Regions from separate parts of the Homo sapiens genome. Here regions 1 and 2 are each linked to region 3. Evidence: promoter capture Hi-C in 16 types of primary human blood cells and fetal thymus (Javierre and others, 2016). All regions are on one chromosome and are shown on one strand. The core of a region is centred on a gene start or on the middle of the fragment in contact, and the rest is flanking DNA. Distances in the headings are between cores, read along the strand shown. Region 1 holds the start of LOC124903581 (a long non-coding RNA gene). Region 2 has its middle 140 kb from the start of LINC00923. Region 3 holds the start of NR2F2 (nuclear receptor subfamily 2 group F member 2).

Region 1 (4,781 bases), core at 965-3,464, 1.3 Mb before region 3:
CTGAGAGGCTGCCTTTCAAATGATGGAGCACTTAGGAAAATATTGTTTTTCTTTCTTATAGATTTAGAATAGAAGTAATGCTTGCCTTGGGAGATATATGGAATTGTGCCTAGTGTGTGTATGTGTGTTTCTGTGTACCCATGCACACATACATGCTTATTCATGTGTGTATGTGGGCTTCCATGCATCTCTGGAAGCCAACAGTTATCAACCAGAAATTGGAAACTTAAAGACGTCTGTCTGCCTCTAAGCTGGGTAAGGACACTTGTGAAAGGACAGAACACAAATTGCCTACTCTGCATTCTTCTGCTGAACTTAAAATGGATTCTCCAGCACCTCAACTCTTCTTTATGGCATTGAGTTGCAACCACAAACTGTTCTGTTAGAGCCTCCCTAGGCAGCGTTCTAGACAAAAAATTCAGACTTGGGCAGACATAAAAGTGGCAAAAGGGTAATAAATTTCGAGATGAGGCCAGTTCCTGCTGAACGGAGCTTCTTGAAAGGCAAATGGAGATTTGCATTGCAGAGTATATAACAGTGGTTCCTAGGACAATCTTTTTGGGGACAAATTTGCAACAAAACCTGATAATAGTGTAGTAGTTGAATTCATGTGTACAGTCTAGATTGGAGCAATATCATTTGACAGTATTGGTGAGTTTCTTGCGCAGGCACAGACGAGCCATTGTCAGGCTGGTCAGATTCAATAAAATACATTCAGTTAAAAGAAGGGCCCAGGCCAGGCGTGGTGGCTCACGCCTGTAATCACAGCACTTTGGGAGGCTGAGGCGGGCGGATCACAAGGTCAGGAGTTCGAGACCAGCCTGGCCGATATGGTGAAACCCCCATCTCTACTAAAAATACAAAAATTAGCCAGGCATGGTGGCAGGTGCCTGTAGTCCCAGCTACTCAGGAGGCTGAGGCAGAATAGCTTGAACCCAGGAGGCAGAGGTTGCAGTGAGCCGAGATCGCTCCACTGCACTTCCAGCCTGGGTGACAGAGCAAGACTCCGTCTCAAAGAAAAAAAAAAAAAAAAAGGGCCCTAAGATGGTCTTGGATGACAGGACTCACATTCTTTGCTGGGCCTTTGCTGCTTGACCTGCCAGACTACTGAATTCCTGCTCTGCATTTCTCCCATAAGACAAGGCAGATCTAGTTCCTTGGGGACTACAGCCTTCCTTGACATAGCCTACTGCAGTGTCACACACCCAGGCTGCAGTGGCAAGGGCTGTGACTTCCTATTCTTTTCTAGGCATGTACATCCTCCTCCTCTTCCTCTCTACTGGCCTAAAGGTAGCCAGGATGTGTTAATAAAGTTTCCTTTTGTTTTACTCATACTTGCTTAGTCTTTGCTCTCTTTAGTTAGGAAGAGCAACTAAAGTTAGTAGAGTTAGTAGAGTTTCAAATTCTACTTTGGAAAAATGAAATGCATGTTTAACCAATATTAAAAAAAAAGAATCCTTGAGGCCAAAATAGCAACCTTAGGAACTAGGGTATGGCATACAACTCTGTTTTGTTGTTGCTGCTATTGTTTTGGTCACCTTGGGGGTTTTCTTTCTCCTGCGTATTAACCCCTTGACTCCACAAACTCTTACACCAGGGGTGAGCTCTTGATTCCGCCTGGACAAACATAGCACCCCTTTCCTCTGAACACATGACTCAGTGTTATATTATATGTGTTTATTTTTATTGATTTAACAAACATAAAGCATGCTTATTATGTGTCAGGCACTATTGTAAGCATTCTACAAATATTAACTAATTTAATACTGAAAATAGCAGAAAGTTGAATCCAGTCCATGTGGTACAGGGGACTCTAATGAAGAAATTACTTCCTGAGTTGTGGATAGAGCAAAAGGGAAAAATCAGGGATATGAGGCACTCAGAGACTAGCAAGAGTGGACAGGCTTTGCCACTTCCAAGCCTAAAGAGGCACGAATGGAAGTTGTGTTAGCAAAGAACAGTGAGAGCTGGGGCCATGCAGATGGGCCTCTCTTTGGGAGCTGTGTTCCTGGAAGGACACAGCCAGTGCCAGCAATCCGGCCCACAGTAGGAAGAAAGAAATACCACAGTCTCTGCCTCTTGTTGTCCTCCAGTCTTCTCTCAGGACCTCCCAGTGGTCAAGCCCAATTTGAAGCCAGTTGGCCAGGTAGCCAGGGTGATACAATACGCAGGAGTCAGCCTCTCTGGGAACAAAACAGAGTAAAGAATGGACCGCAGCAAATGAAAATAACCAGTGAACATTCAAACCATTTTAGTAATTAAGCAGAGACAAATAAAAATAATAAGTAAACATTAATTATTTTTATTCTACCTCTAACTTTATAAACCACCCACATTAACCCTTATAAAAAACTGAAGTCATAAACTAGACAAATGTCTAGATTCCAGCTGTTAGAATTCAGCAGAGCATTCAAACATCACAGAAAGAAACTCAGGAAGCCAGCTGGCTGGGCAAAGATTTTACATTTACTATTTCTTTTTGCCAGATAATTCTACGGTAGTCCACAGACTTCCCTCACACCAGCCCAGCCTATGATATTGATACTTAAGGAATAAAGAGCTGTTTATATTTTGGTGGGGAGCTCATACTATCAATTTGCACATTAGTGAGGCCAGCTATTGCTCTCTTCTTGGGATCTATTGAGTGGTGGCTGGAGAGATATCTGCTGAAAAAAAAAAGAAAAACCTTAGCTGTCTGATGAAATGTTTTAAATGCATAGGGTTCACCTTGGGGTTGGCTGCCGTTCAGATTTTATCCATTAATAACACACAGGGCTCCCTCTGTACTCTCCAGGGCTGATAGGAAAAATAGTACTACTTACAGGTCCTTGCTTTGCCTGAGGGAGGATATTCCAAATGCTGGTTGTGCTTCATGTACACACACGCATGTTTGTATGCACATCTGCTCGGCTCACATGCATGCAATGGTGCTTCCTGATTTTTTTTTTCAAATAAAATGACACAGAGGATTTTCCCATTTTGAAACATCTTAGAAAGGACAATATGTGGGTCAAAGTGAATGTGTAAGTTTATGTTTTATCGTGACACCCAGAGCTCTAAAGCATCTTCATTCATTTTAAGTCATTTGGTATTATGTTTGGAAATGGAAAGGGAAGCCTTCAAACTGTTGTCTTCTTTCAGTTTTTGCCCGATTCAACCTTCAGCTGACATTTAATCCTAAAGGGAGAAAATGAGAATTGCTACAAGAAACCAACATAAATGTATTACTTTTAAGTGTTGTCTATCATTTATTTTATTTTATTTTTTTAACAAACTGCCCTTTTTATTCCCTCTCACTCTTTCTTTGAAACATTTAGAGAAAAGGGTGTTTAAATCAAAGTCACTAATTTCTGCCACAAGTCAGTCTTCAGATGCAACCTGCTGTTAAGAATTTGGCATCATTTTGTTAAGAAAAGATTCCCAGCACAATTGTCTGAACATAGATGATGGAGATGTCTGAGCTTTGTGAATCAACGATTTGCTATGGAGAAGGGTCATTTTATTGTTAAGATTATGGGTCATTAGTGTATAAATGCATGTCAATGGAAAGAAATACATAAGTGAGGGGTTTGGAGGGTATAGAAGATCCCTGAATTGTTTCCTGAAGAGTTTTGCTACACAATTACATTTAAAATAAGAAGGGGAAAAATAAGAAGTGGAAAATTTTAGCATTTAGTAAGTGAGAAGTAATTTACTCATTTTTTTTTCTATCTCCAAAACCCAAGTGCTTCAAGTTGATTAAAAACTTTTCTATCAAGTCATTCTATACTGAATCTAAACTACTCCATTAGCTTTAAAGGAATGTGGAACTGAAGCAAAGAGGTGTCCCCACTTCCATTCTCCAAAATGAAATTGATCATCTTAGGAAACTGTATCAAACACTAAAGAAATTGTCAACCTTCAACAATCTGTGTTGGAGTAAGTATTTTAATTCATATTATTTACTCTAAAATATTAGTCTTGAAGTGAATTGCCACAATGTTACCAAGATAAGCCCCTGAATCCACAGGGGCTAGAAAGAATTGACTCCACAACCAAAATTGCTGTGGAGTCAAGGCTTAATAAATACATATTCCCTAATTAACTAAACTTTGTAAAGATGTTAAACAATGCTGATGCCTTAATAATTGTTTCTACACCTATAGCTCATTTATTTTTATATGTTATTTCTATTTTTTCCCATAACTTGAGTAAAAGGGACATTAGACTTTGACATTCTTGGCTTTCAGATTAACCATGTGACTTGGGCAAGACACTTAGCCTATTTAGGTATTGGGGGGCTTTGTTTGCTTTTTATTAGTACAATAAAGACAGTAAATACTTCATCATGGTTATGTGAGGATCAAGTGAACTGAAACATATTTGTGCTTTTTAAAAAGTTTTAGGTGTGAGAGATAATTACACTGATGACATAGCATGATGACAAAATTTTATTTCTAGATCCAGTCTTTCTACCATCTCAAAAGTCATAAAAGACACTAGAGCAATAACCATATCATTAGAACAATGGTAAAAGGACAGGCACCAAATGACAAAACAATGAGCATTCAATTTAAATCAAAGAAAATCTGACTTAAGGGTGGCTGAAGACAGTGGTGGCAGCCCACTGCATGCCTCCTTAATACAGTACAAAACAGACAAAATAATAAAGAAAAATAGACTGTACTTGAAAATCACATCCTCTGCATAACTTGAGGAAAGACGATGTACAATCTTTCAAATCACTCTAATTTAAAAAAAAAACAAAAGTCAATGATTTCCTGCCAGACCTCCACCCAAAG
Region 2 (4,254 bases), core at 1,693-4,192, 1.4 Mb after region 3:
GTCATTTTCACTAATACTCTCTGCTCTTCTTGGCAGGTGACCTTTCACAAATGGTGGCTTTGTTTTAAAAATGTCCTATTGTAAAAAAGAGGGCAGAATTCACAGAGCAAAGGCCAATGTAGCTGGAAGGCTTTGTGGGGGCCATGGAGGCTTGTTTCCTCTGCCAAAGGCCAGCGTTAACCTGCTCCCAGCCATGAGGAGGAAGGGGGTCAGCCCTCACTTCCCAATGCTTCATCCCATTCAAGCTTCGTTTCTTAACATTTCCAAGGAGAACATACTTAACAGTATGGAACTGTTGGTTGGCTAATCTATTTGCTGTGGTGGTATCTTAGGAAAATAAGAGTCAGCAAATATCTGGGTGACTTTTATAAGGAGATAGAGAAACAAATCAATATTCAACAGTACAAGTGAGGACTGGAAAATGTCCTAGTGAAGACATATTTTCAGTATTGGTTAGTTCTTTCTACTCAGAATCTCTAGAGGAAAAGAACTAATCTTACATGTAATACAGATCGTTGGACTAGAAATCATAGATAACCTGGATTTATGCCCCAACTCTATTTCTATGAGAGCTGGGATTCTTGTTGGTGGATCAAATGACTTCTTTGGGCAATTCCCTCTTTGGCAATAAAATAAGGATAACAGTCCCTCTCCACCTGCCTCGAAAGAGTGCTAAATCTCAAGTAAGATTATGCATATAAAAGCATACTGTAAGAAGCAAACACTCACAAAGGATACTGAGTACTTGGTACTTGGGCCACGGAGCTTGGGCTAACATCATTCACCAATTGTCTTTTAAAAAAAGAAATTTCAGATGATCAAAAACATGGGGCATTTCTAAATTAGAAGAGCTTGAATAATGATCCCTTTCTGGTTCCTGATACTGTGGAGAGAGGTTAATAAGTAAGACAACAGTTTCCCATCAGGAGATGGAGAACTCAGTGGTCGAGGTATAATGATAACACTGAAGTTACTAAGCAGCAATTCCTTCTTGCTCATATCTCAGAAGCAAAGAATCCTCAGGGTTAAGGGACACAAAGCCCACATAGGCCTTCCTGAGGCTTTCCAGGTGTTGGCATACTCAGGCCTTACTCAACAGACAAGACAAAGTGATGCTAATGCCCCCATGATAGGAAATAAACTTCTATTGTTTCTTGAAAGCATCTCTGGATAAGAGCAAGGACCAGAGGGCTTTTTCCCATGGTATCAAAAACTGGAACAGAGAGAAAGAGAATTTCTCATCACAATGTTAAAACATCCATCTCATGCTCTGAAGTGCATGTAGCTCTGAATGCTTCCTTCATAGTAGGGAGGCAGGCCTGAGGTTGCTCTTGGAAGGAGTCTCTGGCACAGAAAGCTTTGTAGAAACTCCATCAGATCTCCACTCTCTGCCTCCTGATTAGCTGCTGCCTTCACCTCCTCTTTTGCTTTTCTACTGCAGTTGTTGGATTTGTGATCTTTGCCATTTCAGGAAAGTTTCAGCATGTGTTGTACTGTAATTTTAGCTTTATACTGTTTTTCATTTGTAAAAGAACCTCTTTAAAGAACAGAATGGAAACAAGCAGTTCTTCAAAGGGTTTCAAATGAGAAATGTTCAAGTGTGTGTGAGTGCGGGCACTGTGGTAAACCCAGCAGTTGCTGGGCAGAGGTTATTCATTTATACACTCAGTCATTTGACTTGGATTCTAGACCTCTATAATAGAGGCTGGCAATGTAAAGATGAATGAGAACAACTGGCTTTATCCCTAGAAAGATGTGGCCCAAGGAAACTAAAACTCACTTCTCCCTCACTGCCATCACCATCAGCAGCATAAGCAACCTCAATACCATAATGCATTTTTATTCACGGGTAACCCATTTAATATAAATTCTTCAGTCAATTTCTTTGTTTGTTTTGTTGTTGTTGTCTTTTGTTTTACTTTTATTTTGGGTTCTGGGGTACACGTGTAGATTTGTTATATAAGTAAACTTGTGTCATGAGGATTTGGTGTACAAATTATTTAGTCACCCAGGTAATAAGTACAGTATTCCATAGGTGGATTTTGATCTTCACCCTCCTCCCACCCTCCACCCTCAAGTAGGCCCTGGTGTCTGTTTTTCCCTTATTCATGTCCATATGTACTCAATGTTTAGCTCCCCCTTAGAAGTGAGACTATGTGATATTTGGCTTTCTGTTACTGTTAGTTCACTTAAAATAATGGGCCTCCAACTCCATCCATGTTGCTGCAAAGGACATGATCTTGTTCTTTTTTATGGCTGCATGGTGTATATGTACCACATTTTCTTTATCCAGTCTACCATTAGTGGGCATTTACATGGATTCCATGTCTTTGCTATTGTGAATATTGCTGCAATGAACATACATGGGCATGTCTTCAATCAATTTCTAATTCATCTCTAAATCTTCTGTATCACTTTCAACTACTTTGAACACATAGAACTTAGTAGGCATCTAATATTTGTGGAAAGATGATCTTGAAGAATAAAATAAACATCTAAAGTGGGTTAATACCATTTGAGCAGGAAGAGTGAGGGTGGGTGCATCAGTTGGAGAGCATTGGGGACAACTGAGGAATAATGGAGTAATTAATTGTACATGACCCTAGGCCCTTTGCACTCACCAGATACCGACTTCCTCCTGCATTCTTAGTCACAGCCAGATTCAGCTTTAATTGATCTCCACTGAGCACCTAAAGTGAACCAGGAATTATGTAGGTATTCTTGTATGGCATAGTTTACCTAATATCACAAAACAACCCCTTACATCCAATTAATCCCTCATTACTGGCGTGGGAAATGTGGCTCAAAGATATTAAATAAGTTGCCTAGGTTCCACAGCCTAGTTATGTTAGACCCAGGATCCCGTGTCAGGTCTGCTGCCTCTGACGAGGGTTGCATTATTCTTAAGCATCAGAAATGGATCTCGGAACATGAATAATAAATGAGAAAGACCCACCTAGTTAAAATGACTGTAATTTTTTAATCCATTTGGATGATCAGAACAAAGGCTATAAAAGCATCCTTTGAAAGATCAGGCCAGCCAGAGTCACCTCCCCTTTGCAAGGAGGAAGTCACATAGGTCTAGCTCATCCTCTTAGGAGCGGAGCCCCTGTGAGTTTAGTTCCTAACCAGCTCATCCCAGCCTGGCCTCTCTCTACTGCCTCAATGCAAATGACTACCTGAACCCAGGGTAACCTTATAGATTTTTTAATTCAGTAGTTATTTAAAGTCACTGAACAACTTATTAAGCAGGTAAGATAAAGTTCACAGGATAAAATGTGTAGGCATGCAAATGTGAAGCATTAGTCCATGTGGCACACCGAAGTCTGGCATTGCGTGTTTTAAAAGCCTTCAAAGTGCCGTGCATGTCCTTGTACTTTTCTATATTCCAATGTAGGATTGTGGAGATCTAGTTTCCCTCAATTAAGTTCTCATTGCTGATGAAACCTGAAGAGAATGTGAAATGGTTTGAAGTGAGGAGTGTGTCCTTCAATGTGGATCGATGGGCAAGAACAGTGTGACCAGAGCAGCCATGGGGCAATGCTCTATATCCTCACCAAAGAAGATGGATGCTTTGGGAGTTGAAGAGGATGATCAATAGCATGCTGACTGACATTGATACAAGAAAAGGTCACTCAAGAGTCCAAGCCATAGGGTGTTACCCAGCCCCTGAGGGTGTCATTCACATTGCAGCCTGTAAACAGCACCTCCTGGACTTGGTAGACATGGTGGCCCTATAGACCCCTTATCTTCCCTATTCTCTAGTACTATTATCCTCCATTTACGACCAAGATGGCGGAGCAGGCAGAAGGAAGAGAAACCACCATATGTCACCTTGGCCCCAGCTCATGACAATATCCCCAAAGTCAATAGCCTTTGAGTGCCCCCAGGAAAGAGGATGTGGGAGTGAGGAATACCATGTGCCTGTTCTGTATCAATGTCTGCATTTTATTGATCCGTCCACAATCCCTCCCAAGAGGGATGGATCATTACGCCCTGTCTTTACAGCCAGTGCCTCCTCTGTATGAAAGCCACAGCAGAACAATCCCTCTTTGCCATTCTCAACTTTGCTTTTGTCAATAAGTGCTGAAGACATAAAAAGGGAAGATGGGCTTTGCTCCTGAATGAGAGCTATTTGACTTTCAATATACAGACCGTGGCAAATACCTTTAGATGTTGTGTCCCGTGGAGCCTTTTCAGAGGTAGGTTTTGTTTGCAGAGGGCTCTTTTCTCCTTAAACTAGACCCAGAGAGC
Region 3 (4,414 bases), core at 1,883-4,382:
TGACTTGGAAGTTCAGAGGGACACAATGGAAGCCCCTTTCCCTATTCATGGAGCTCCAGTGTGGTGGAAGAGAAAAACACACACGGACTAGATTGAGGGAAAGGAGGAATTCAATGAATCCTGGAGGACGGAACTGGTTTCTACTGAGTTCAGAGTTAAACTCGGCATTTGCTGGGGTCTGTATTCATATTGTGATTCAATCTGTAAAGAAATACAGCCCATCAGGCCACTTTCTGCAAGAAAATTATATTCCTGGGTGTTGAGTTTCTTTCTTTTCTTTTTTAGATTAGGGCAAATGTTGTCCCAACTTTCTCTAGGCAAATTAAAGCTTGCCATTCTTCTCATTATAATAAATTTACATCTGCAAAAAAAGACTGAGTTGGATTTTTAAAAAACAACAATAATATATTGATTTTATCTTCTCAGAGCTTTTTAACCTTAGACGCACAGCAAGTGAGCATCTCTGGAGAAGACATTTAAAAATATTTTTGCCCTTTTTTCTTCTCAGTCTGTAGTCTTGTCTCTTCTTCTATGCATTAAAATTAAGTATAATTCATACGGTGATTTTTTTTCTCCCTTGTAACAGCATTTCATAACTGAATGAGTCCTAAAATACAGAGTGAAACACCCCTGACTTTATGGCAGCCCTGTGATCATTTGCCTAGCAGGCTCCAATTTGTTAAGATATGGTTGGGAAATTATTCCATTTTAATCTAAGGCCATCACGCATACTTCAAATTCCAAAAATCTCTAAGTGGACTGGGGAAGCTCTTCCTCCTCGATATTGTTCCTTCCCATGTTTGTAAAAGGTAATCTGCTATGGAAGTCTCATTCAGGAGGTGAGATGAAGATTTCCCTATAATCAATTATTTTCATCCTCTATTGAGATGGGAATGCCCATTAGATTTCCTATCTCAACCCCAGTCTCATCACATCTCAGCTGAGCTTGTCCCGAATCTGCTGACATTTGTAACATTAGCAATTCCTGAATCATAGAGGTTGGAAGGGAAAACAACAACAACTACCAAAAACCTTCTCCTGTGTAATGATTTCTTTTCCATCCTTCTTATCCTCTTTAGGAGAAAGTTATATTGTGTCTCTAATTAACCTGAAATTCTCAGCTTGGCTTCATTCTGTGGCAATCTTATTACACACCAGGTTTATGATAGTTCAGTGTCCACTATAGGTTTGCTGGGCTTTTTTTTTTTTTTTTAACAACTTTCAAATAAACCGAGAACCTGCAGCTTTAGTGAAATACGTGATTTCATCGGAGAAAGAGTGAGGGCTGAGGTTTCGGGAATGAAGCTTAAAGAAGATTTTTCCTTTCCTAAAAACCAGCCCCTATCTGCCCAGATCTTTAGTCCTTACCTCATATTCTGCCTATGTGTGTAAAGAGAATTGAATGTAAAATGTGATCTATGCATGTCAATTATATGTATGGTTTATTTTTAAAATATCTTTACCCTGTCAATTTTTTTTTCAGCTACCAAGGATGTTTTCTGTGGTCATCAATTTACTCTTCATATGTGTTCATTTCTTTCCTGGAGCTCAGCGTCTTTTGTGTAAAATATTTTAATTGTTCACAAACCTGGTTGGTTTACCGGCATGAGGTTTTTTCTTGGTGCAAAGTGTGTACAAAGGAGACACAATTTTCTTGTATAAATGTGGAATAATGATAATTCACTAACTGGTCATAAACAACAAGTTTACTGCGTTGGAATATAGTGTGTTCTGAGAGCAATTCTACATGTTTGATGTTTAAAACCAGACACCCTGGAATTCAAAGACACAACTGTCTCAATTATTTTAGCACATGGAGCAGAATGGCAATAGGCTATGAAGTTGTTCTTTTTGCAGTGACTTCTTGAGGTAGAATATGGCTTGGGTTTGGTTCTTGTGACCTGTACTAGTATTATTTCCCATTTGGGGCAGAATCTCTGGGTGCGTTTTAATGACTATATGAATGCTTAAAAGGAACTTGAGGAACAATGAAGTCCGTACTCAACTGTTCTATGACCTAGAAGCATAGTCGGTGAAGTCTTTGTCTGTGTACATTGACAAATGTGCATCTGATACATGTGCGCTTACATGTGTGTACAGAGGGTGTGCACAGGGGAGGCTGGGCGGCTGCCTCCTCCTGTCCATCAGTGGGCAGAGGTCTTTCCCCTCTCACCATGACTGGGTGTGTGGCAGGATGTTGGCTGGAGAGTTAGCTAAAACCAGCGAGAGAGGGTAAAGTTGAGGAAAATTGATTCTAATTGCATCATGACAATCAGATGAAGTCTATTTCTGCTTCTCAGCATCCGAGATGCTTTATTTGGGCAATTAAAATGTCAGGCCACATACCTGTGAAATGTTAACCCTACAAGGAATAAACAGAAACAGAACGGCCTTTATCCTCTGAAAAGAATATATGTCATATATATATGTCACCAAACCGAACAAGTGATCAGAGTTAATTAAGAGAAGGGTTTGCCATCACCCGGATCTGGCCAACTCTTTCGTTTGGAAAATGCCTACAAGCTCAGTTCGTGGCACCTTCCCACCCTCACTCCCTATCCCTCTGCAAAGAAACCAGGGAACTTTTCTTTGGCATTGTGGGTACTAAGATGCGCCAGGAGTCCCGGGTGGTGCGCGAGCGGCGGAATTCGTGACATCGCCAAGTTGCGAGAGGCAAACTCCCCGATTCCATCCAAAGCCTCTCGCGGAGCCTTTAAGAGACGTTGTGTGTGCGCGCTGCGCTAGTCTCCCCGCCGGGGCGGAAACCTCGGGTGCGGGATGTGGGGAGAGCAGAGGCAGCGCTCGCAGGGCCAGCACGGGCCCATCCCCCTCTCGGCGGCGGCGGCGGCGGCGGCGCGGCCACCCCGTCCCCGCCCCCCCAACCCCCGGTCCCCCGCGTGCCCCGCGCCGCGCCGGCGACGCCGCTCGCGCTAGGACCGGGCTGCGCCCGCGGCCGCCATGGCGGGGCCGCCGCAGTCCGGCCAATGACGGCGAGGGGGCGGCGCGCGCGCGCCTGGCCAGGCCAACCCCGGCTGCTGCCTTATAAGGCGCGCCGTCGCCATGGCAACGTGCGCTAAGTTGCAGCAGTCGTGTCAAAGTTCACTATATAGAGAGCTCAGTGAGCTGATCGCGGAGAAGCCACTTCTGCCAGCCCCGGCGCCTATAAATCGCATTCCCTCCCGCGCCCCCCTTTTTAGCATATTTGATCACTTTGATTCTCTGTTCTTTTCTCTCCGCGGTGTGTGTGTGCGTGCGCGCGTGTGTGTTTTCTTCTTCTCCTCCTCCTCTCCCCGAGTTGCCTCCTTTCTCCGGGTGCCGTACTGCCTTTTTTCCCCTCTTTCATTCTTTCTCTCCGTCTTTTTCTCCCCCCTCTGCGCACGAAGGATGTGCTTCTAGGTGGTGATCTGCCCTCCTCTCTCTCTTTTATCATTTCTCCCCCGCCGCCGGCGAGTTGACTCTTTCCCTATGTGTGTGAGGCGGCGGCGGCAGCAGCAGCAGCAGCGGCTCCGGCGGCGGCAGCAGCGGCAGCAGCGACTTCAGCGGCGGCGGCGGCGCTAGACGCAGCGGCTCCGGGCCCGACCCGGCGGCTTCGGCGGCGGCTCCGGCGGCAGCGGCGGCCCGGGCGGCCCGCAGGGAACGGCGAGCGGCCTCCACCCAGCGACTGCGGGCGGCGGCGGCCGGAGAGAGCGAGGCGCGCGCCGGACGCCCGGGGCAGGCGGCGGCGGCGGCGGCCCAGCGCCAGGACGACGCCGCGCAGCGCCCGACGCGGACCACTTTCATGCTGATTCCCCCGGACCCGGGCAGCGCTCCGGCCACTCCGCGGGCCGCCGGCCTCCGCCCCGGCCTGCCTGGCTCCCTGGGCGCGCCCGCACCCGGCGCCTCCGATCTCCTAGTCCTCCTGATTTCGATGGCTTTCCTGAATGGCTGACTGTGGGCTGCCCTGGACTTGGCCCCCGGACAGTCGCCTCTCCTCCTCCTCTACCTCCTCCTTCACCACCACCTCCTCTTCCTCCTCCTCCTCCTCCTCCTCCTCCGCCAACTCCTCGGCTGCACACCAGCTCTAAGAGCGAGAGTGAACGAGAGAGGGAGGGAGAGAGTGAGAGCGAGCGAGATCTTTGGAGAGATTTTTTTTTTTGCCTCCTACTTCTGTCTTGAAGCCAGACAATCGACTTCAGCTCTCCCTCCCCTCCCTCTTTCTCCACGTTCTGCTCCCACTCGCTCTCCTGTCCCCTTCCCCTCCCCTCCCGGCGGAAAGCCCCCCGAAACCAACAAAGCTGAGCCGAGAGAAACAAACAAAACAAACACACCGGGCCAGACAAGCCATCGACAAAACTTTGCAAAAGCAAAAACAAAAAAGGAAAAACTAACCAACCTCAACCAACCAGCCCCCGAGCCACCCGGGGCGCCCTCCCGC

What was found. Contacts are between HindIII fragments. The CHiCAGO score rates a contact against its expected background, and 5 or more counts as called.
Region 1: a contact is called between a fragment that was not itself captured here and the fragment with the promoter of NR2F2 in region 3, in 1 of 17 cell types (endothelial precursors). The highest score is 5.3, in endothelial precursors.
Region 2: a fragment that was not itself captured here is called in contact with the fragment with the promoter of NR2F2 in region 3 in 1 of 17 cell types (monocytes); the score reaches 5.2 in monocytes.

What each region holds. Positions count from the first base shown.
Region 1 is chr15:95,032,562-95,037,342 of GRCh38, forward strand. The region is part of intron 3 of LOC105370991 (a long non-coding RNA gene); the gene reads left to right. LOC124903581 (a long non-coding RNA gene) reads right to left here and starts at 3,177. Exons shown (of 2, transcript XR_007064798.1): 1 at 2,823-3,177; 2 at 1-2,183. The HindIII fragment of the contact is 8,797 bases long and covers 1-4,781 here.
Region 2 is chr15:97,736,614-97,740,867 of GRCh38, forward strand. No RefSeq gene overlaps it. Among named protein-coding and RNA genes, the nearest start is that of LINC00923, 140 kb to the right of the region's middle. The HindIII fragment of the contact is 3,175 bases long and covers 1,356-4,254 here.
Region 3 is chr15:96,327,568-96,331,981 of GRCh38, forward strand. NR2F2 (nuclear receptor subfamily 2 group F member 2) reads left to right here and starts at 3,133. Exons shown (of 3, transcript NM_021005.4): 1 at 3,133-4,414. RefSeq lists a silencer at 2,886-3,025. The HindIII fragment of the contact is 6,805 bases long and covers 1,304-4,414 here.